Regions from separate parts of the Homo sapiens genome. Here regions 1 and 3 are each linked to region 2. The links are contacts of gene promoters, found by promoter capture Hi-C in human tissues and cell types (Jung and others, 2019). All regions are on one chromosome and are shown on one strand. Each heading gives the region's core, a stretch centred on a gene start or on the middle of the fragment in contact. The rest is flanking DNA. Distances are from core to core; before and after follow the strand shown. Region 1 holds the start of LOC105371280 (a long non-coding RNA gene). Region 2 holds the start of CES1 (carboxylesterase 1). Region 3 has its middle 85 kb from the start of CES1.

What was found. The method cuts DNA at HindIII sites, captures the fragments that hold promoters and counts their contacts. A contact is called where the count stands out against the background at its distance.
Region 1: a fragment that was not itself captured here is called in contact with the fragment with the promoter of CES1 in region 2 in 3 of the 25 tissues and cell types used here (bladder, liver and spleen).
Region 3: a fragment that was not itself captured here is called in contact with the fragment with the promoter of CES1 in region 2 in 4 of the 25 tissues and cell types used here (liver, mesenchymal stem cells, spleen and 1 more).

Annotation. Positions count from the first base shown.
Region 1 is chr16:55,720,050-55,723,275 of GRCh38, reverse strand. It overlaps LOC105371280 (a long non-coding RNA gene), which reads left to right and starts at 1,440. Exons shown (of 3, transcript XR_933605.1): 1 at 1,440-1,591. The HindIII fragment of the contact is 3,146 bases long and covers 17-3,162 here.
Region 2 is chr16:55,831,669-55,834,671 of GRCh38, reverse strand. It overlaps CES1 (carboxylesterase 1), which reads left to right and starts at 1,576. Exons shown (of 14, transcript NM_001025195.2): 1 at 1,576-1,668. The coding sequence starts at 1,617. The HindIII fragment of the contact is 6,998 bases long and covers 730-3,003 here.
Region 3 is chr16:55,746,590-55,749,841 of GRCh38, reverse strand. It overlaps the pseudogene CES1P2. Among named protein-coding and RNA genes, the nearest start is that of CES1, 85 kb to the left of the region's middle. The HindIII fragment of the contact is 6,048 bases long and covers 1-3,252 here.

The sequences.
Region 1 (3,226 bases), core at 340-2,839, 110 kb after region 2:
GTCTGTTGAGGGTTTTTAACATGAAAGGATGTCAGATTTTATAAGAAATTCTTTCTTTGTCTATTGAGATGAACATATTGTTTTTGCTTTAAATTCTGTTTATGTGGTGAATCACATTTATTGATTTGTACTTGTTGAACCAATTATTGCATCTCAGGGATGAAGCCTACTTGATCATCGTTTATTAACATTTTGATGTGCCGCTGCATTTGGTTTCCTGGTATTTTGTTGAGGATTTTTGTGTCTATGTTCATCAGGGATATTAGCCAGAAGTTTTTTTTTTTCATTGTGACTCTTCCAGATTTTGGCATTAGGCTGATGCTGGCTTCATAGAATGAGTTAGAGAGGAGTCCCTCCTCTTGGATTTTCTTGGAATAGTTTCAGTAGAATTGGTCTCAGTTCTTCTTTGTACATGTGGTAGAATTTGGCTGTGAATTAATCTGATCCAGGACTTTTTTTGATTGGTAGGGTTTTTTTGTTGTTGTTGTAACTGATTCAATTTCAGAGTTCCATATTAGTCTCTTCAGGATTTCAATCTCTTCCTGATTCAATCTTAGGAGATTATTTCCAGGAATTTATTTATTTTCTCCAGATTTTCTAATTTGTGCACATAGAGTTATTCATAATATTATCTGAGGATCTTTTATATTTCTGTGGGATCAGGTGTAACATCATTTTTGTCATTTCTGATTGTGCTTATTTGGATCTTCTTTGATTTTGTTAATCTAGTTAGGGGCCTATTGATCTGGTTTATTTTTACTAATAACCAACTTGTAGTTTTATTGATCATTTGTATGGATTTTTGCAACTCAGTGTCAAATTCTTCTCTAATTTTAGTTTTCTTTTGCTAGCTTTGGGGTTGGTTTGTTCTCTTTTTCTAGTTCCTTTAGGTGCAAACTTACATTGTTAATTTGAGATCTTTCTAACTTCTTGATGAAGGCATTTCATGCTCTAAACTTTCCTCTTAACACTGCTTTAGCTGCATCCCAGAGATTTTGGTAAGTTGCATCCCTATTTTCAATAATTTCAAAGAATTTTTTGATTTATGCCTTAAATTTGATATTCACCCAGGAGTTATTCAGGAGTAAGTTGTTTAATTTCCATGTATTTATGCAGTTTTGAGAGATGTTCTTGATAATATTTTTATGTTTATTGCACTGTGTTCCGAGAGTGTGCTTGGTATGATTTCAACTTTACAAAAAAAATTTTAACACTTGCTTTATGACTGAGCGTGTAGTTAATCTTAGAATATGTTCTGTGTGGTCAGGTGTGGTGGCTCATACCTGTAATCCCAGCACTTTGGGAGACCAAGGCAGGCAGATCTTTTGAGGTCAGGAGTTTGAGACCAGCCTGGCCAGTGTGGTGAAACCCGGTCTCTAGTAAAAATACAAACAACAACAACAACAAACAAACAAACAAACAAACAAAAAAACAAAATTAGCCAGCCGTGATGATGGGTGTCATAATCCCAGAGATACTCAGGAGGCTGAGGCAGAAGAATCACTTGAACCTGGGAAGCGGAGGTTGCAGTGAGCCAAGATCGCACCATTGCACTCCAGCCTGGACGACAACAGCGGAACTCTGTGTGCAGGTGAGAAGAGTATTTGTTCTGCCATTGTTTGGTGGAGTGTTCTATAGATGTCTATTAGGTCTAACTGGCCAAGAGTCAAGTTTAAGTCTAGAGTTTCTTCGTTTGTTTTCTGCCTCAATGATCTGTCTAATGCTGTCAGTGGAATGTTGAAGACTCCCACTCTTATTGTGTGGTTATCTAAGTCTTTTTGTAGTCCAAGAAGAATTGTTTCATGAATTGGGGTGCTCCAATGTTGGGTGTGTATATATTTAGGATAGTTAATTTTTCTTGTTGAAGTGTACATTTTAGCATAACGTAATACCCTTCTTTGTCCTTCTTAATAGAAATCGGTTTAACATCTATTTTATCTGACATAAAAATAGTGACTGGTTCTTTTTAGTTTTCCATTTGCATGGTAGATATTTCTCCATCCCTTTACTTTGAACCTGTGGGTGTCATTACATGTGAGATGAGTCTCTTGAAGACAGCAGATGGTTGGGTCTTGTCTTTTTATCTGGCTTGCCACTCTATATCTTTTAAGTGGAGGCATTTAGCCCATTTACATTCAGGGTTAGAATAGGTATATGAGATTTTGAGCCTGTGACTGTGTTGCTAGCTTGTTGTTATGTAGACTTGGTTGTGTAGTTGCTTTATAGTACCTGCGGGCTATATTCTTAGTGTGTTTTTGTGGTAACAAGTATCACTCTTTTGATTCCATGTTTAGCACTCCCTTAATGACCTCTTGTAAGGCTGGTTTAGTTGAAACAATGTCCCTCAGCATTTGCTTATCTGAGAAGGATTTTATTTCTACTTCACTTATGAAGCTTAGTTTGAAGGAATATGAATTCTTGGTTGAAATTTCTTTCCTTTAAGGACACTAAAAATAGACCCCCAATATCTTCTGAGGTGTAAGATTTCTGCTGATAGGTCTGCTGCTAGCCTGATGGGGTTCTCTCTGTATGTGACTTGACCCTTCTCTCTAGCTGCCTTTAAGATTTTTTCTTTTGGGTTGATGTTCGTGAATCTGATGACTATGTTCCTTGAGGATGGTCATGTTGTATAGCATCTAGCGAGTTCTCTGTATTTCCCGAATTTGCATGTTAACCTCTCTAGTGAGATTAGAGAAACTTTCATGGACTATATCCCCACATATATTTTGCAAGGTTGCTTATTCTCTTTTTTTCTCTCAGGAATGCCAATGAATTGCAGATTTGGTCTCTTTACATACTTCTTGGAAGTTTTGTTCATTGAAGATTTTAATTAGGAAACAAAGCTTAGCAGGAGAGGAGAGCCAGAGAAGTGACAGGGAAGCTACAGGTTACGACAGATTTGTGAACTCAGCCAAGCACAGTGGTGGCAGGGCCTAGCTGCTACAAAGAAGACATGTTTTAGACAAATACTCATGTGTATGGGCAAAAAACTCAAGGACTGTATTTGTGACTAATTGTATAACAGGTTATTTTAGTTTCTGTTCTGTGGAAAGTGTAAAGCATTCCAACAAAGGGTTTTAATGTAGATTTTTTTTTTGCACCCATGCTGTTGATTGCTAAATGTAATAGTCTGATCGTGATGCTGAATAAATGTCTTTTTTTTTAATGTGCTGTGTAAAGTTAGTCTACTCTGAAGCCATCTTGGTAAATTTCCCCAACAGTGTGA
Region 2 (3,003 bases), core at 327-2,826:
CAGGACATTTTTACCACCCCCAAGATAAAACTCATGCCCATTAGCAGTCACTCCTCATCCCCGTCTCTTTCCCCTTCCCCAGACCCTGTCAAACACTTTCTGTCTCCATGGATTTGACTATTTTGGAAATTACATATAAAAAGCATCATACGACATGTGGCCTTTTGTGGCTGGCTTCTTTCCTTTACCATGATGTTTTCCAGCTTCATCCACGTTGTAGCATGTTCTTCTTATGGCTGGATGATATGCCTCTGCACGCATACACCACACTTCATTTACACATTCATCAGGTCATGGACATGCGGGTTGTGCCCACTTTTTGACTAGGATGAATGACACTGCTCTTTGTGTACAAGCTTTTGTGTGGACATGCTTTCAGTTCTCTTCGGTAGACACCTAGGAGGGGAATTGCTGGGTCATATGGAAACTCTGTGTTGAACTTTTTGAGGAACTGCCTACACCGCACAACAGTTTATAACCTATTATTTTCTCCTTTCACAACGCATCCTGTCTTCATTGTTAATAAATAGCTGTGCACATCACTATTTTGAGTGAATACATCGTATTTCCTTAGCCAGCGGTACCACAGTGTGTTTAGTGAATTCCCTATTGTTGGACATTTAATAATCCCATGAAAGAGGCTTTGAGTGACTTCCTTGTGTCCCCAGCAGCTTGTAAATGACAGTTTTCCAGGTGTGCCCAGAGCACTCTGTATCCCCTTAATTTGGTGATTTCACATTGCCTTGACATCACCCCTACTGCTCCTCCACCCCATCTGTCTTGTCTACAATGGTGAGCCCCTTGAGAAGCTGAACCATGTCTTGAATTGGTCTTTGTATCCATTATACATGGCCAGGTGCCAAGCATTTTGGTAAATGTTCACAAAATGGATGGGTACTTGGATGGATGGATGATAACAGCCAGGGACTATGGGGGGACGGAGTTCATTTTTACATTCTGTCCAAAAATCCCTGCTTTGGAAAGTAGTGAGTTCTCTGACACCGATGGTGTGTGACAGGAGGCTGGACCAGTTGGCAGGATATTGTGAAGCTAATTCAGGCCTCAGAAAGGGGACTCGATGAAATTTAAGATCGCTTCCAAGCTTGAGAGCCTGGAAAGCTATGAAAACACAAGCCCTGGGAGCTGAGATATGTCCTAACTTACCCAGCTGAGCTGTGAGGTGTGAGTGGCTCTAACATTTTCCAGTTGTTTCTGAGGACCTCAGATCAAAGCTTCCCTTTGCCTAAAAGCATCTGCCTGCTGGTGTGGGCCCTTGGGGGCCGTCACAGTGCACTGAGGTTAGAGTCCTGCAAGGGTGAACCCTTATGTAACAAGTAGTTGGGCAAGTTTACAGCTCTCTGTAATCTGACAGTAGAGTCCAGACTGGTTTGATGAAAGAGGGTAAACTGTGGGTGGGCGTGGCCTGAGGCCCCACTAGAAGCCCAGGGAGATCTGAGGAAAGGGAGGGCTTTTCTGATCTCTCCCAATTAGAGGATTAGGCAATTGGCAGCGCAGGGCGGTAACTCTGGGCGGGGCTGGGCTCCAGGGCTGGACAGCACAGTCCCTCTGAACTGCACAGAGACCTCGCAGGCCCCGAGAACTGTCGCCCTTCCACGATGTGGCTCCGTGCCTTTATCCTGGCCACTCTCTCTGCTTCCGCGGCTTGGGGTGAGTCCTTCTGAAATCAAAATGCGGGGCACTTTTTGAAATCCTTGTTCTGGGCCGAGGTGGGCGCAGATGCGTAGAAAGGCAAAGACACAACAGGTCCGGCTCTGCGGCGGGGCACGACTTCCATATTAGGACTTGGACTTGGAGCAGCTGAGCCCGGCCAGCCTGGCCCGCGCGGAGACGCAGGGAGGGTGAACATCCTGAGATCGCCCTGTACTGCTCGCCCAAATGCAGGCCGACAGCCGGCCCACCTCAGGCCGCACACACGAGAAATTTAGGCAGCTCAGTTTGCTGTCCCTTAATTAGTCCCCTTACGGCTGGATCACGGAGAGCGGCTCAACATAATATTAAGAGCATCGACTCTGGAGCCAGAGTGCGTGGGTTCGAGTCCCCGCTGGGCGCTTCCTCGCTGTGTGTCCTTAGGCAAGGGACTGCGCTATTCCGTGCTTGGGTTACCCCCTCTCTGAAACAGAGGTGGCAGTGCTGCCTACCTCACTGGGCTTTGGTGAGGAGGAAATGGGTGGCTGTTTCTAAAGCACTCTTGGCAGCGCCTGGTATGTAGAAAGCACGAAAAAGGGATGGATAAATAAAGGCGCTGTTTAAAAACGTAGTGTATGAATAGAAAATTTGAGCTGTGGTCAGGCCACTATATCAGGACCTCTTGCCATTAAAAAGACAGTTTCTTACTCATGTTCTCAACAGGAGGGGGACACCAGTGCGCGGGGCACAAGGGGAAGCAGCAGAGCCTGGGGAGGGGACAGGGCGGATCTGAGGCCAAGGGGCTTTTACTGTGGCTTCCAAGGATAGAAGAGGAAAGGCAGGGCAGGCAGGCTGAGGACTGGCAAGTTGGGATACTTCAGGGGCTCTGGGGCACAGGGGCTGTTCCTAATTGTTTTGTACCTAGCCCTGGCATGATTAGGGCAGGTGGGTAGTGGCCAGGGCATGGCAACCCGATCAAAGAGGCAGTTGGGGTGTGGGCTCTGGGGTGGCTGGACCCTGGGAGGGAGTTTCTCCAAGGTCAACAAGGCCTCAGATGCCAGAGCATCAGAATACAGAAAGCAAAACACATGGTACATAGAGGGGTGCAGCGAGGGGCCTCGAAATACCCCCATGCCATTTTATAGACAGAGAAACTGAGACTCACACAGGGAAATGTACTTGCCCAGGGTCAACCCGAAAATCACGCCTAGGTCTGTCTCTGGGTCCTGAATCCTGACAGCCCAGCCCCGTCTGCATCCTGTCTTCCTTCTGGCAGCCTGACACTGCGAGAGCTCTGGAACTGTGGGGAAGGGCAGAGAAGAGAGGAAGCCTATTTGGAACTGAATGTTCCTTTAC
Region 3 (3,252 bases), core at 345-2,844, 85 kb after region 2:
CGTCAAGAGGCTTGTATATCTCCAGAGACGGGGAGTTCACTATCTCCAGGGGCGGCCTCTCCATTTGTAGAGAGCTCTCATTGTCAGAGTGCTATGGTCACAGGGTCAGAAGTTTGATCGCTAGAACCTTAGAAGCTGCCCCTTCCCAATAGGCATGCCCCGCCCCCCACCCTCACCAGCTGTGCTGTGTCTTTGCCAAGAGCCTCACCCATTGCGAGCAAAGTTGGCCCAGAATTTCATCACCATCTTGCTAAGTCTGATCTCCTCTTCTGAGGCACCCTCTGTGGGGAAGAAGAAAAAAAGCCTTTGTTACTCAAAGTGTGGTCCGCGGACCTGCATTGTCAACTTCACGTGCAAACCTGCTAGAAACATAGTCTTGGCGCATGCTCCACACCCACTGAGCTGAGGTCTGCACATTTAGAAGATCCTGGTGGATTTGTGTGTACTTTACCTTTAAGCATGGCTGACCTAGGGCTCAGCAATGGGCATGCATCATTCCATGTGCTTGCCCCACCTCCCAGGGTTGCTCTCTCTTGCACACACCCACAATTCACATTCTGAAATATAACAGAACTCAAGCCTCCTAAGGGTGCATAATTGGGACATGCCCAGTGGCGATGGTGCGTCCTGAGCAGCCATGGGGTGAGTCCCATGTGATCTGTAACAGCTGAGAGTTAAGGCTTAGAAGACATCATGAAAGGATTTTTAAAAATATTGTATAATGTAAACTAAAAATAAAATCCTAACACCCCCAACTCACTGAACAGACCCTCTCTGGGCTAAGGGGACCCCAGAAAAACCCTAAACTGAGTTCCTGCCTGGAAACAGACAGGAGGTCAGACACGCCTCATCATACTCCCCCTTTTTTGTGGTTTAGACACCACCGGACGAGTATCAGCAATAAAATAAAGGTGATCATTCTGACAGAACACACTCCTTGTGGCAATAAGACACCAAATTAAAAAAAGATCGAAGGCCATGCCGGGCAAGGGTTCAGGCCTGCATCTCTACCCTTAAAGAATCCACTCTGTTCTCCCTGCTGCAAGGTGCTTCTTTTTGTCTACAGCTAAACCAGTACTGGCCTGGAGTTAAGCAAAATGAAAACAATTAAAATGGCTGCAGCTTGGATACTCGGAAGAACAGAACACTGCCCACCAGCCTTAACTACGGCTTTGATTGCATAAGAGACTGATTTCAGTTATTTTCTCCAGATAAGAATATCACCAGCCATGGACTGGACCTGGCCGGTGTACAGAGGCTGCTCACTTGCTGGGCTTTGTGTCCTGAGAAGACCCTTGGATTTATAAGCCCTAATTGTAATACATTTAAATATTAGGTCTCCACCACCAGGTGAACATGGGCAATGTTACATGCATGTTTGTTTAATACACATGTGTCAGGACTGTCTTCATGAATATCCATTGCTCCCCCTGTAACGTGTTGAACATGTATGTTTAGCCAATCTGTTCATATAAAGCTTCTACCCAACCCCTCCTCGTTCGATGAGCCTGTTTCTGGGCTTGGCCAGAGGCACCTTCCCAGCTTGAGGGATAGCAACTTTGCTGACTATAAACCACATCAAAAATAAAGTCTCCTCTCCCATTCCAAATTCATACATCCTGTGATTTCTAAATTAACAATTATTAATTATATTAAATTTAAAGGTTTATGAGGTTTTGTTAGAGACATAAAGGCAGAAACACAAACCGACACACATTAGACCTGACTCAGGGTTAACACCAATTCTAATCTCACCCTCACTCATATTCTCAGCACTTCTGGGAGAGGGAAATTGGTTGGTGGTTTCTCAACCTAGAGCAGGGCCCTGCATGTGTCCCTCCGCCTATCTTGTTGATGACACGGCCCAGGATTCTGAGTGTCGGTGGCAGAGGGCACATGATATACATCCTCCCTCATGTGTGTTAGAGCAGGAGGAAACTGGGGGACAAGCCAATGACATTCAATCCTATCACAGTGAATCCTGCTGACTATAAACCATAATTCATAATCCTGTGATTTCTAAACTAACAATTATTAAATGTATTAAATGTAAAGGTTTATGAGTTTTTGTTAGAGACAGACAGAAAGACAAACCGACACACATTAGACCTGACTCAGGGTTAACACCAACTCTAATCTCACCCTCACTCACATTCTCAGCGCTCCTGGGAGAGGGAAATTGATTGGTGGCTTCTCAACCTAGAGCACCCCTGCATGTGTCCCACCACCTGTCTTGTTGATGACATAGCCCAGGATTCTGAGTGTCTGTGGCAGAGGGTACATGGATGCACATCCTCCCTAATGTGTATTAGAGCAGGAAGAAGCTGGGGGACAACCCAATGACATTCAACCCTGTCATAGTGAATCCTGCAGGAGACCCCCCAAACACTTGTCTTGTTGATGTCACAGAACAGGATTCTGAACGCCTGTGCAGAGGGCACATGAATACACATCCTCCCTCAGGTATGTTAGAGCGGGAGGAGGTGGGGGGACAACCCGATGACATTCAACTCTGTCATACTGAATCCTGCAGAAGACACCCTCCCGCCTGTCTTGTTGATGTCACAGGCCAGGATTCTGAGTTTCTGTGCAGAGGGTACATGGATACACATCCCCCGTCATGTGTATTAGAGCAGGAGGAAGCTGGGGGACAACCTAATGACATTCAACCCTGTATAGTGAATCCTTCAGAAGACTCCCCCACACACACCCGTCTTGTTGATGTCACAGAGCAGGATTCTGAGTGGCTGTGCAAAGGGCACATGAATACACATCCCGCCTCACATATGTTAGAGTGGGAGGAAGCTGGGGGACAACCCAGTGACATTCAACCCTGTTATAGAGAATCAGTAAACTAAGACCAGGAGAGAAGAAACTTGCTGAAAGCCACCACACCAAGACAGGAACCCAGATCTCCTAACTCCAAGCTCACGGAGAGCAAGGAGCCATTACCTTTTAAAGATGGGGCCCCAAGGACGGAGAAGAGCTCATCCCCGTGGTCTCCTATCACCGTCTTGGGTTTCATGTCTGATGAGAAGCTTGGACGGTACTGAAACTCATACATGTAGGTGGGTGCTCCAGCATCTGAGAAGACAAGGATTCATGCACAGTTCATGTTGCCAGACACACACCTGGAGGCTACCAAGGTCTCCAACTCTGCAGGAAACCTCTGGCTGTCAGCACAGTAGAGAAACAGAGTCACAGGAAAGCTCAGCGACATGCTCCGGGCTGCATAGCTGGTTGAGGTGGAAC